3 separate regions of the Homo sapiens genome follow, and all the other regions are linked to region 1. The links are contacts of gene promoters, found by promoter capture Hi-C in blood cells and fetal thymus (Javierre and others, 2016). All regions are on one chromosome and are shown on one strand. The core of a region is centred on a gene start or on the middle of the fragment in contact, and the rest is flanking DNA. Distances in the headings are between cores, read along the strand shown. Region 1 holds the start of TNFAIP6 (TNF alpha induced protein 6). Region 2 overlaps MMADHC-DT (MMADHC divergent transcript). Region 3 overlaps MMADHC-DT (MMADHC divergent transcript).

Region 1 (4,275 bases), core at 1,102-3,601:
GAAGCAAGCCACCACACCCAGTTAATTTTTGTATTTTTAGTAGAGACGGGGTTTCACCATATTGGTCTGGCTGGTCTCAAACTCCTGACCTCGTGATCCTCCTGCCTCGACCTCCCAAAGTGTTGGAATTACAGGCATGAGCCACTGCATCCGGCCTGAAAGGAACTTTTATCAGTGTATCTTCTCTCAGCTCCTCATGAGGCTTATCCTGGGTGGTGTGTGCTGGAGGCTGGGCAGAGGGTGCTTCTTAGACAACTTCCAAGGTAAGTTCATAGGCAACATTTCCTTTGCTACTCTCTCTTTTCTTCTCTCTCGTCCTCAGGATTACCCTCTGCATCTTTTCCATATGAAAACCCCATTTCCTCTTTCCTTTATTGAATGCCCCTCAAAATCAGAACTTACATCATTAGGCATTATTCTCTATTTCCTTGATGATATGGAGGATGAGATTTTCAGACACTATGCAGAGGTAAGGGGAAATATTTATATTCTGCATGAGAGTTGGGAGAGGGGAGAAAGAAATCCTCCACCCCAGATCGGGTTAATTCATCAAAGCAACTCATTAAATTTTCGTGTTAAAAGAAGTTGAACATTCACACTTCGCTCTACTTGGAGCTTCATTAAAATGCAAATGAACACAGAAGGGTATCTGTTCTTAGTTATCTGGCCTAACTAAAGATTAATTGCAAACCCTTTCCTGAGAGTAATTTTTGATAAATGAGAACTAGGGGGAAATTAGGTGCTTGAGAGAGATGCAGAAAGGGCACAGCTGGAGGATGTGACAAGAAAAGAATTGGAAAGACTATGGGAAGGTTTTGCTGTAGCACTGCACAACTAAAGTTATATTTACTTCCTAAACCACAAACTTAAAATACGCATATAATTATACTTTCCAAAGAAATATCATGGTTTATTCCTTCCAACTACCTATGAATCTTGCTCTCAGTAACCATGCCTGTCTTCTCCATAGTCACACCCACCTGGTCTAAACTATACCTTTCTCTTTTGCAACAAACTTAAATTCACTAACCCTATCTGTGAACTTGGATACAATTCCCTCATCTTTCATGTGCCACCAGTCCAAAATAAAGATTTTCAATGCTAGTAACTTTATGTATACCTCAGTGAGCATCCAATAAATTCTGTACTCTCAGCCTACATCCCCATAACTGCTCTTTTGAGAAGAGATGAGACCAGAACACACCTGAGATGTTCAAAGCAAAGATGTCTAAGGGATTCAAAGCTAACTTCAAACCAGAGCATGTCTAGCAAGTTGGCTTTTTCAAAGAACTCCAACATCATTGGAGGGACTAAGAAAGCATGGGAGAAATGAATGCTATAATAGGAGTGAATGGGAAGCAATTTGAGACCAAAAGTAGAGAATCTAAGTAGCAAAAAATGACCAATTTTGTAAAAAAATCAAAAGTTGCCAATAAATGGCTATCAATGAACAATAGGAAATGCCATTAGCATCAGCGGTAGTGGGAGTATTATCAGATATGTTACCCAAGGATTCTACACAAAGGAAGAGGAAAGTTTGGGATATTTGAAGACATGATGACTTTACTGTAATAATTATTATCTATTACCTTGATCGTCTTCTTCAAAGTTAGAGTGGTCTAGGGAAGCTAGGGACAAGTTTTTATTAACTTTGTTAGTCTACCCACCTTTCTCCCAACACTTCAAGAATTTGTGGCCTGGGAAAACTGTGTTATAATAGGACATCCCAAAGCTGCTGGAACATCCTGACGCTCTGAAATTGAAATACTTTTCTGGGAGCTGATACATTTATTTAGCTGCTGACCATAACACACCAAAGACTGCAACAGACCCCACCCTGGAAGAAAAGCAGGCAGAGAATAAGGAAGTCATATATCACTGGAGAAAAATTAGGATTCTCCAAGCTGTGCATACTTTTTGTTTTAAATTTTTTACACAGGCTTGACAATGTTTAGAAAAGCCAGTCCAACATTACCAATAAAAGATTAGTGTTTAACCCCATATCCCATAATTGACACTGCAAATAAGACATTTAGGATTTATCTTGAAATTCCTACTGAAGTTCGATTTTCTTTTAATCACTGCTAAATCTGCATCAAGTTACACAAACTTTCTAACAGAAAAGTGTTTGTGACTAACAATAAATGAACTCCGTTCTTAGTAAGTTAATTTTAAAACATAGATGATCATTCTATCTCCTTAGTTTTGGTTGCCAATGCAAATGAGTCAGAGGATTTGCTTCAGACACTGAGATAATTGTGTAACTCTACAGCGGAAAATGCCATTGGAGAGTACTTGCTGACCTCACAGTTGAAAAAAACTATTTAAAAGATGTGGAAACCAGATGTTTCAGTCACATTTCAGCCACTGCTCTGAGAATTTGTGAGCAGCCCCTAACAGGCTGTTACTTCACTACAACTGACGATATGATCATCTTAATTTACTTATTTCTCTTGCTATGGGAAGACACTCAAGGATGGGGATTCAAGGATGGAATTTTTCATAACTCCATATGGCTTGGTAAGAACCTTCACTCATGAGCCTCTTGTTGAGAATGTCAATTCTTTAAATCATGGAGAAGGAAATTTAAAGCAGTAACTTTTTCTATTCTGTACAAGGCTGATGTTCTCAAAGAAAATGCTTAGGAAAGATAGCCTTTGGAATACATACGCTTTTTTTTTTTTAAGCGTTCTTGTCCTCTAAAATTTAAAAATAGCATTTTATAAAGTGAATTGTTCAGTAGAAAATAGCAGTTAATATTTATATTCAGTATGAAAATATATTTTTAAACTTTTCAAAGCAGATGTAGTAGTACAGTGAGGAGTATTTCTTTAACCAACTAGAAACTCCAATATAGTCTTCTGTTTTTATGTCAATGCATTTGCAATCAGATTTCAGAATCCTAACAGGTAAATTGGAGTCTACGAAAATTTTATAATAATTGCTTCATGGACTCTGAGCTATAGTCTATATCTTAGTTTTTTCAAACATTTTGACTATTTTGACCAAGCCAGCTTGCAGTACAGAAAAAAGTGAAAAATGTTTCTCCTTCTGAATGCATTCTTACCACTTTGATTCTTTCTGTTTCTACTATCCATATAAATACTTTTCTGACCCTTTTGTTAGACAAGGAAAGTTTCTTTTGTTATTTTGTTTTGTTAAATGTAAGGAATGAGACAGGCCAAACAGTGAAGATAAACAATAGATCAAAAAAGGAAAATGCAGAAAATCCAAAACACCCCTTAGATTACAGTATGCTAAACAATGCTTTAATTCTCATGATACAAATTGATATTGCTCTATGTTCATTATTGTGTTTAATAGTAAAAAAAAATTGAATTTCTTGGGGAAAAATGCATAGATTCTTGCATAGAATAAAGAAATAAAGAGAAGGCGAAATTAACCTAGATTTTGATTTTATGCTTTCTAAACAGCACAGTTGTAGAATATTTTCCCTTTCAGCATGTTTCTCTCTGGTAATAACTGCAACCATGCGGATTTCATTAAAAAGCCTAATTTGTAATGCACAGCCTTGCCGCCTATTTTTTTCAGCTTGAGCCAGTGAACTAATTTCACTGTGATCCATTTGGCCAAGACGGGATCTGAAATTTAGTAGAGGAATGAGCCCATCTCTTTATTTTAGTTGAATACAGTCAAATATAGGAAATACACTCATATTTGTCAGGATTTTTTTTAAATGTCATAAAGCTAGTAAGAATTAAATCCAGGCAGATAAACTTTGAAATATTATCAAACCCTCTAATAATCAAGTAATTTAGAGTTGTCTTTTAAAGTGTTGTCATATGTTACAAAAATATAAACCTGGACAATAGAAGTTTTGCCCCAGAGGTAGAGAGAAGCAAATTCAAACGTCTATTAATGTATGCTACAAATCTGAGGGTCAGGATAATTGCAAATTGCTTCAATCTGGGGCAAATTTTTGACCAGCCAGCCTAGCACAGATGTTTATAGTTGGTTGGATCAATATAATCTTTTTAGAAACCATTTAGGAAGGAAAGATAGTTGGATTAGAAGGGATACATCTGTTAGCAACTATCAAGAACAGGACACTTTAAATCTAGGGTGTCCCATCTTTTGCCTTCCCTGGGCCACATTGGAAGAAGAATTGTCTTGGGCAACTCATAATTTTTTTTTTTTTTTTTTTTGAGGCAGAGTCTCGCTCTGTTGCCCACGCTGGAGTGCAGTGGCACCATCTCGGCTCACTCCAAGCTCCGCCTCCCAGGTTCACGCCATTCTCCTGCCTCAGCCTCCCAA
Region 2 (4,144 bases), core at 670-3,169, 1.7 Mb before region 1:
ATTGCTTGCAATTTGAAAATTGTTTTTTCTTTGTGGTTCGCTTTTCTGTCATGGCCACTGGCACAAATCTGCTTTACTTTTATCTTAACATTAATATCCAACAGTGAGATATCTAGTCTCTACAAAGAAAATGTATTTATCTCTGACTGTGTTCTTATCTTAAATAAAAACCTTTTACCTCCTTCCAGAAATATTGACAGAATAGATGCTGAAAGAATTTTTTTCTAATGGATATGGTTTTTAATTTGATGCATTTTAAACTTTCAAAGGCTTCGTTAAAGCTCACACACATTGTCTTTTAGATGCCCAGTAGGATGTACATTTCTGTAGCAATCTCGAAGCACTTCCCCTATTTTTGTACAAACTTATGAGATAATCCCTATTTGGATTTGAGTCTATGTTCATGAAAGTCAGAAGTTGTTTAAAGAGAAAAATCATGTAAGTAGTGAGTTGAAATTTTGAACTGGGTAATACTGAAAGTTTTGAATTTTTGCCAAATACAGGCCAAACTAAAATGTACCCTAATCCCAGTACTTTATGTGAAATAAGATTGATTTCTGCTTTGTATGAGAAAAAGCTAAACCAAAGATGTTCGAAAAAATGCTGGAATTAATAGTCTACCCAAGAGCAATGAATTATATTTGCCAATCCCTGGAATCAAATGAGTATTTAAAATATACCTGTAAGTCTCAAGACAGAAAACTTTTATTATTATTATTTTCCTTTTCACAAATAGTATCAGGAAAGACTAATTAAACAAGGATGTGGAGAATACAGAACTAACTTAAAAAGAAAAATCCCCAACTTTGATTTTTTAAAAATAATCCAAATTGAATAAAAGTTGAGATATGTTCTTCTCTGGTCAGGCATTATTAAAATAATTGATAGCACTCGGTGATGGTAAGGATATAGGAAAACAGGCCTTGTCATTTATTTCTGGTGGAAATGTAAATTGACTCAAGTGATTTGGAAGGTAATTTTTAAAGTATCTGTAAAAAGCCCTAAAAATGTAATGATCATTGACTCAGAAATTTCACCTTTAGCAATTTATCCTCAGGAAATTCTTACATGAGTTCCAAAATATAACCAAATAATATTGCTGTGGTATTATTTGTAATAGTGAAAAATTGCATATAACCTAAATAAATCATCACTGATACAGTGGTGGTTGAGAAAACTATGGGACATTTGTAGAGTGGCAAATTATGTGGATTTAAAAATATAATAAAGCCTGAAGATGAAAATATCTATAATATATTGAAAAAAGAAAAATGTAGAATATTATGTATAGCCCAATCTCACTTTGATTTTAAAAATTGTATGACTGTATCCATCTTATAAAAAGTTTTGAAGGATATATCATTAACTGTTTAATAGTAGTCACATTTTGGGGCTGGAGTTCAGCATGATTTTACAAAACAATGTCTTAAAAGTTGAACTCAGCCTGAGCAACATGGCGAAACCACTTCTCTACAAAAAATACAAAAATTGCGCCACTGCATTCCAGCCTGGGCAACACAGGGAGACCTTGTCTCAAAAGAAAAAAAAAAAGAACTCAATTTGGGAACCATCTATCCAGTAAAGGCTCTGTTAAGTGTATTTCTTTCATGTTAGGTATCTTAAAAGTATTCATGTGGTCCTAGGAATAGCAAGTCTTACAGCCAGGATGTGTTGAGAAGAAATTGCCTGAGAAATTAGTAAAAAAGGCAATTGGAGATAAATTTACTTCTAGTTCTGGTCTTTACACAGGCTATTTATAATTTGGGCCACATCAACTAAAATTCAGTGCTTCAGTTTGTCTGTCTTGGAAAATGGGAAGCTTAAAGATGAACTGAAACTGAGTAATTCTAAGTGCATCTGTATATGAATGTCAAGCAATATTTATTTACCTCTTTGTTTCCTTCTTTGTGAGTTTTTTTTTTAAGATGGGTATCTTTAAGATTAAGTTATTCTAAGCACACTATCTCTGCATTGTTAAATCCATGGAATGGTTTCTTCTTATTAAATTTCTTCGTATTTGAAGCTTGTCTTGGAGAAAAATAATTTTCTCCTTTTCTGAATATCCTGTCACAACTATAAGGTACACTTCCTTAGGGAAGGGTAGGAAAATTATGCAGAACAATTTTCCTAATGCAGCTATTCTCTTGTTGAGTCTTTATCAACTCCCTTTCTTGCATGCTCTCTGTCTTTTTGCAGGTTTCTATTTCCTTTGCCCAAATGGGATCATCTTGGGATTGTAGGTCCTTTGGACTCAATGATATTTAATAAAGGTCTTACTGTATATTCCAGATCAGAAGGACAGTTCTTTTCTATGGTTAAATTTTTTTTTTAATAATTCTTACTATTCAATGCAATGAATGGAATAAATGGCCATTGAGGGTTGGTTGGTGAACTGAATTTTGTTGTTATTGTTTTTTTACACTTGGCTTTTTCATCTCTCATTTTTTCCCTTAGTTTCATTATGAGAATTTTCTCTTTTTTTTTTTGTATACCACAATTATAGTGGTCGCTCATTTTAAAAATACCTCTCACATATGTAGGTGGTTGGTCATACACCATACATTATATTACATATATAATGAAAGCTGAATTTAAGAATAGATCACAAGTACTAGGATCAAATCTGCTTTCCAAATGTCTTATATTCTATTTCATGATGCAGTTTTGAAGAAAGTGCTATGACATTTGCCAAACACATCTATCAATGCATGGAATATAATGCATCACTTGCTGTCTTTTATGCTCAGTGAAGCTCCAAGCTGAGGTGGTTGCCTCTAGACAAGAACAGCATTAGAGCATTTCTGGTTCAGTATCATTTGGCATGATACAGAGCCATTAATGCAGGTGTCTAAAGGGCTTTGAAAGCACTTGGCAGGTCAGTGCCTTTTAAACATGATTAATAGCCATTAATTAGTTTTATTTAATTTACTATTATATTATAGTCAATTCTAGAGGTAAGATAATACACAAATTTTAAATAACCCAGTAAGAAAGAATACATTAGAATTAAATAACCAAGACTAACCCAAGTCATTAAGAATAAAAATCTTCAAAAAACTTCTGAATATCTAGATCAAAGTTGTCCAGTAGAAATATAATGCAAGCCACATTCATAATTTAAAATTTTCCAGTCACATTAAAAATAAATGGCATTAATTTTAATAATATATTTAATTTTACTCAATATAATAAAAATATTATCATCTCAACATGCAATCAGTTTTAAAAATTAGAGATGTTTTATATTCTTTTTTAATAATAACTTTTTGAAATCTGGTGTGTATTTTATGCTTACAGCATCTCTGAATTCAGATTAGTCATATTTCAAATGCTTAATGGCCATATGTAGAGGCTACCATATTGGACAGTGCAGGTCTAGGTTTTTAAAGTTGAAGCTGGAGCACAAGTTCCTTTTTATTTTATCTTAATGAAAGAAATAGAATGGCTAGTAGGTTACAATTAGAGTAACTAATAAATGCTTAAAATGGCAACCAAGTCTAAGGACATACAGCAAACCACCACTTAATCTTAATAAAGGAAGTGCAATGGATCCATTGCTGATTCAATGCCAAGGTGTAAAGAAACATACAAGCTGCTAGTGACTTCTATTATGCAACAAATAAAACTGTAACCCACAAATCCAAAGGGAAAAGTAAAACTAATGAGCTTTGGTTGGAATGAGACCAATGGTGGAACCAGTTTGACCACACAAGCATTTCTTTTAGGCTCTTGGGGAGATGGATTTAAGGGCCACACTCTAGGCCTGAGGGCAGAGAGCCAAAGGGCAAAAGTGAGATCTTCCAAATATAAGCTTTTATATGTTGCCCATCTGTTAGTCTCCTAAAGAAGCTTGGTGAACTGACAGGCAGACTGACTGGTAGATGTATGGTGTGCTGTTTTAGTATCATATTCCAGTTAATAGTAGGAATAGCTTGCATTTATGCAGCATTCAGTCTTTTAAAGAGCACTTCCATTTATTCCTTTGCAACTTTTTAAAGCAAGTTTTACAAATTATGGCACACTAAGCAAACTAAGGCCCAAAACTTTCATTTTAACAAATGATATTGAGCAATTAATAAGCAAGGAATTATGCTCGGCTTCCAGAGATAATGGTAATTGTTACTTGAGAACATAGATATATAAG
Region 3 (4,641 bases), core at 1,600-4,099, 1.8 Mb before region 1:
TTTGAGTCAATAGATACGTAACGGAGACAAACCAGATGGCCAATTCCTGTGGATTTATGGGACAATTCTGCATATTTTAAGCAAATAATTTGTTCTTTTCAATTATATTCAAAGCTTACATTCTGTTATACTGTATATTTTATTAGAGAATAGTTTTTCTGTGAAGATAATACCATTAGCTGAGTTGCAAAAAAAATTCTAAATTTTAATATATACTTTCAAACTATTTTTTTCATTCCAAAACTACTTCTGAGGAAACTCTTACATAAAATTAAGGTTAAATATTTTTATATTTCCTGACTTTCAATTTATTACCTATCTTCAAATCAACAATTAACTAATTGATTTACCATATGTTATAGACAATAGAAGTAAAGGGAAAGTGTGAGCATTTACAAAGTCAATTGAAAGAGACATTTAGCTGGAAAATATTTTGAGCATTGTGTTTTAACTTACTGCTCTGGAGGATGAGGATTTAACTCTTTTCAGCTTCTTTCTTCTATCATGTTTAGTCCACTTCAGAACCCACCCACCTCCCAAGATAGCTATATGACAATTTGATTAGACCAGTAATCAGGGTTTATGTTTCTATGACTATGTAATTGCTCATGAATGAGCTAGGTAGCATACCATGATCTTTTTTTCTCTTGACAATATTTTGTTCTCCTTAAAGTTAAGGAGGGCCTGGTTTTACTGTCATTTCTTCCTTTAGTTTTCTATAATCATATCATTTTCTTCGACCAAACTCTCTCAATTGTGGAAACATCTTCTCAAAACTTTTGGACACATTAGGTATTTTGTCACCTTCACTGTCTTGAAGAAATCTCTCCTGAGACTTTTGACCTGCTCCAAACTTAGATTAATTGTTTTCTAGGTCTGCTGTGCAGTTGTGGGATCTTTATTCATGAGTCTTCTCTTTCCTATATCATATTCTTGTTTCCCAAATTTCATATCTTCCTTCTTCTTACTCTTGTGTTGGAGAAGCACACTCTCCACTAGCTTCTTGAGAAGACTTGCATAAGAAGTAAAATTTTTGACATTTATGTACTTCTGAAAATGTCCGTATTCTACCTTCACATATGATTTTAATTTTTACTGCATATAGAATTCTAGGTTGCAAATAATTTTCCATAAAAATTTTGAAAGCATATTTCTATTGTTCTCTGATTTCAGATTGGAATTAGAGAAATCTCTGCCATTGTGATTCTTGAAACTTTGTTTGAAATTCCTTCCCTTTAAACTTGTTTCTGGACTCTTAAATTTTATTATTTTAATTATTATTAATAATTTTTTTAGAGATGAGTTCTTCCTTTGTTGCCCCAAACTGGTCTCAAACTGCTGGGCTCAAGCAGTCTTCCCATCTTGGCCTCCCAAAGTGCTGGGATTACAGGTGTGAGCCACCATGCCTGGCCTGTCTGGACTCTTACTGGATTGTCTAGTTCCTACTCACCCTCCCCCTGACCAAGTGTTTTACAATTTCATAGTGATGGCATTTGGTGTGGGCCTAATTTCCTTCATTATGCTTAGTACTCACTGGATCCTTTCAATATGGAAACTCATGTCCTTCAACTCTATAATATTTTCATGGATTCTTTCTTTGATGATTTTCTTCTCTCCATTTGTATTTGTCTCTGAACTCCTATTATTCAGATAGGAGTTGTATTGTTCTTCTAATGTTTTTCTTTCCTGTTTTCCATATTTTGACTTTTTGTCTTATTTTTGGAATATGTGCTCAATTTTTTATTCCAGCCCTTCTATTAAGGTTTTGTTTTGTTTTGTTTAGGTATGAAACGAATATCTATTTAGGCTAAGAAATTCCCACAAATTACAAATTTTAAAAAGGTGACAAATATTATAAACATTATTTTTTGCTATGCTTTTTGATAATTGTTGGTAATTTGAAATAACAAAGTAGATTTATAATGATCATAAAGGCAAGTTAAGTATATTATTCTGCTATTGGCATTACTTGTCAAATCCAGCAGTCAATTTATTATCTCCTCTTACTCGGTTGTTCTGCAGCATTTGACAGCGGTGACCACTGCATACCTCTTTTGACACACTTTCTTCTTCAGCCTCAATGACACCACAGTCTTCTGGTTGTTTCTTCTGCTTTACTGGTTGGTCATGCTCAGTGTCTTTTGCTGGCTTCTCTTCCTCTGCTGAACTTCTGGATAACGGGGAATTTAATAATGTGCCAAGAATTTAATCCTAGACCTCCTTCTCTTTTCTTATTAACCCTGTAGGTGATTTTATTTTTTTTAATAGAAACTTTATTGAGCTATAATTCACATACCATGAAATTCACCATTTTAAGTTGTATAATTCAATGTTTGTTGTACAATCATCATTACTATCTACTTCTATTTATTTTTCTTCAAAAATATATTTTTATTTTTAAATTTTTTTTACTTGAAAAATCATAATTATATACATTTGTGGGCTATGATGTAATGTTTTGATATATGTATTCAATGTGAAATGACTAAACCAAGTTAATTGACCTAGCCATCACCTTACTTATCTATTGTTTTTTACAGTGAGATATTTGAAATTTACTCTGTCATTTTGAAATATGCAATACATTTTTATTAACTGTAGTCACCTGCTGTGCAATAGATCTCAACACTTATTTCTCCTGTCTGTCTGAAACTTTGTACCCTTTGACCAGCAACTCCACATTCCCTTCCTTCTCTCAATCTCCCAATCTGTGGTAACCATCATTCTACTCTCTACTTCTAAGAGTTCCACTTTTTTAGGTTCCACATATCCACATGTCTTTCTGTATCTGACTTATTTCACTTAGCATAATGTCCTCCAGGTTCATCTCTGTTGTCACAAGTGATAGCATTTCCTTTTTAAAAAAAGGCTGAATGGTATTTCATTGTGTATGCATACCACATTTTGTTTACCTATTCATTCATAATGGATACTTGATTTCATCTCTTGTCTATTGTGAGTAATGCTGGAATGAATGTGGGAGTGCAGAGATCCCTTCAACATGTTGATTTCAATTCCTTTGACTATATACCCAGGAAGTGAGGTTGCTGGAGTATATGGTAGTTCTAGTTTTAGTTTTTTTGAGGAACATCCATACTGTTTTTTTAATAATGCCTCTACTAATTTACATTCTCAACAGCAATGTATAAGAGTTCTCTTTTTGCACATCCTTGCCAACACTTATCTTTCATCTTTTGGATAAAAGCTATTCTAACAGGTATGAGGTAATATCTCATTGCAGTCTTAATTTGCATTTTTCTAATGATTAGTGATACTAAGCATTTTTTCATGTATTTACTGTCCAGTTGCATGACTTCTTTTGAAAAATATCTGTTCAGACCATTTGCCCATATTAAAATCAGGTTATTTGTTTTATTGCTGTATTAGGTCAATCTTGCATTGATATAAAGAAATACCTGAGACTGGGTAATTTATAAAGAAAAGAAGTTTAATTGGCTTATGGTTCTGCAGGCTGTATAGGAAGTGTGGTGCTGGCCCCTGCTTAGCTTCTGGGGAGGCCTCAAGGAGCTTTTACTCATGGTAGAAGGCAAAGTGGAAGCAGGCACGTCACATAGCAAAAGCAGGAGCAAGAGGGGTGGGGTGAGGTGTCACACACTTTTAAATGAACAGATCTCATGGGAACTCACTCACTATTGTGAGGATAGCACCAAGCCTTTGGGGATCCACTCCCATGATCCAATCACCACCCACCAGGCCCCACCTCCATCATGGGGATTATATTTCAACATGAGACTTGGGTAATGGTATGGTTTGGCTGTGTCCCCCTCCAAATTTCAACTTGAATTGTATCTCTCAGAATTCCCAAGTACTGTGGGACGGATCCAGGAGGAGGTAATTGAATCATGGGGGCCAGTCTTTCCCATGCTATTCTTGTTATAGTTAATAAGTCTCATGAGATCTGATTGGTTTATCAGGAGTTTCAGCTTTTGCTCCTTCTCATTTTCTCTTGCCACTGCTATATAAGAAGTGCTTTTCACCTCCTGCTATAATTCTGCGGCCTCCCTAGACATGTGGAACTGTAGGTTCAATTAAACCTCTTTTTCTTCCTAGTCTCAGGTGTGTCTTTATTAGCAGCATGAAAACAGGCTAATACAGGTGGGGACAAATACTCAAACTATATCGTCCTGCTTCTGGTCCTAAATCTCATGTCCTTCTGGTCCTAAATCTCATGTCCTTCTCTAATTGCAAAATACAATTATACCTTCCCAATAGTTCTCCAGAGTCTTAACTAATTCCAGCATCAACTCAAAAGTCCCAAGTCCAGGTTCAAAGTCTCATCTGAGACTCATTTGCTTCCACCTATGAGCCTGAGAAATCAGAACAAGTTATTTGCTTCCAAGATACAATGGGGGTACAGGCATTGGGTTATCATTCCTGCTCCAAAAGGGAGAAATCAGCCAAAAGAGAGGGGCTACAGGCCTCAAGCAACTCTGAAACCCAGGAGCACACCCGTTAAATTGTAAAGCTCCAAAATAATCTCTTTTGACACCATGTCCCATGTCCCATGTCCAGGGCACACTAACACAAGGGGTGGGAGCTACAAAAGTGGAGCTCATGGAGATAGAGAGTAGAATGATGGTTATCAGAATCTGGGATGAGAAGAGGAGGAGGATGAAGGGA

What was found. The method cuts DNA at HindIII sites, captures the fragments that hold promoters and counts their contacts. A CHiCAGO score of 5 or more calls a contact.
Region 2: a contact is called between a fragment that was not itself captured here and the fragment with the promoter of TNFAIP6 in region 1, in 1 of 17 cell types (naive CD8 T cells). The highest score is 5.3, in naive CD8 T cells.
Region 3: a contact is called between a fragment that was not itself captured here and the fragment with the promoter of TNFAIP6 in region 1, in 1 of 17 cell types (total B cells). The highest score is 5.6, in total B cells.

What each region holds. Positions count from the first base shown.
Region 1 is chr2:151,355,241-151,359,515 of GRCh38, forward strand. TNFAIP6 (TNF alpha induced protein 6) reads left to right here and starts at 2,352. Exons shown (of 6, transcript NM_007115.4): 1 at 2,352-2,520. The coding sequence starts at 2,427. All of the region lies in intron 2 of LOC101929319 (a long non-coding RNA gene), which reads right to left. The HindIII fragment of the contact is 6,797 bases long and covers 1-4,275 here.
Region 2 is chr2:149,625,505-149,629,648 of GRCh38, forward strand. The region is part of intron 1 of MMADHC-DT (MMADHC divergent transcript); the gene reads left to right. Among named protein-coding and RNA genes, the nearest start is that of MMADHC, 40 kb to the left of the region's middle. The HindIII fragment of the contact is 204 bases long and covers 1,818-2,021 here.
Region 3 is chr2:149,603,638-149,608,278 of GRCh38, forward strand. The region is part of intron 1 of MMADHC-DT (MMADHC divergent transcript); the gene reads left to right. Among named protein-coding and RNA genes, the nearest start is that of MMADHC, 18 kb to the left of the region's middle. The HindIII fragment of the contact is 5,475 bases long and covers 113-4,641 here.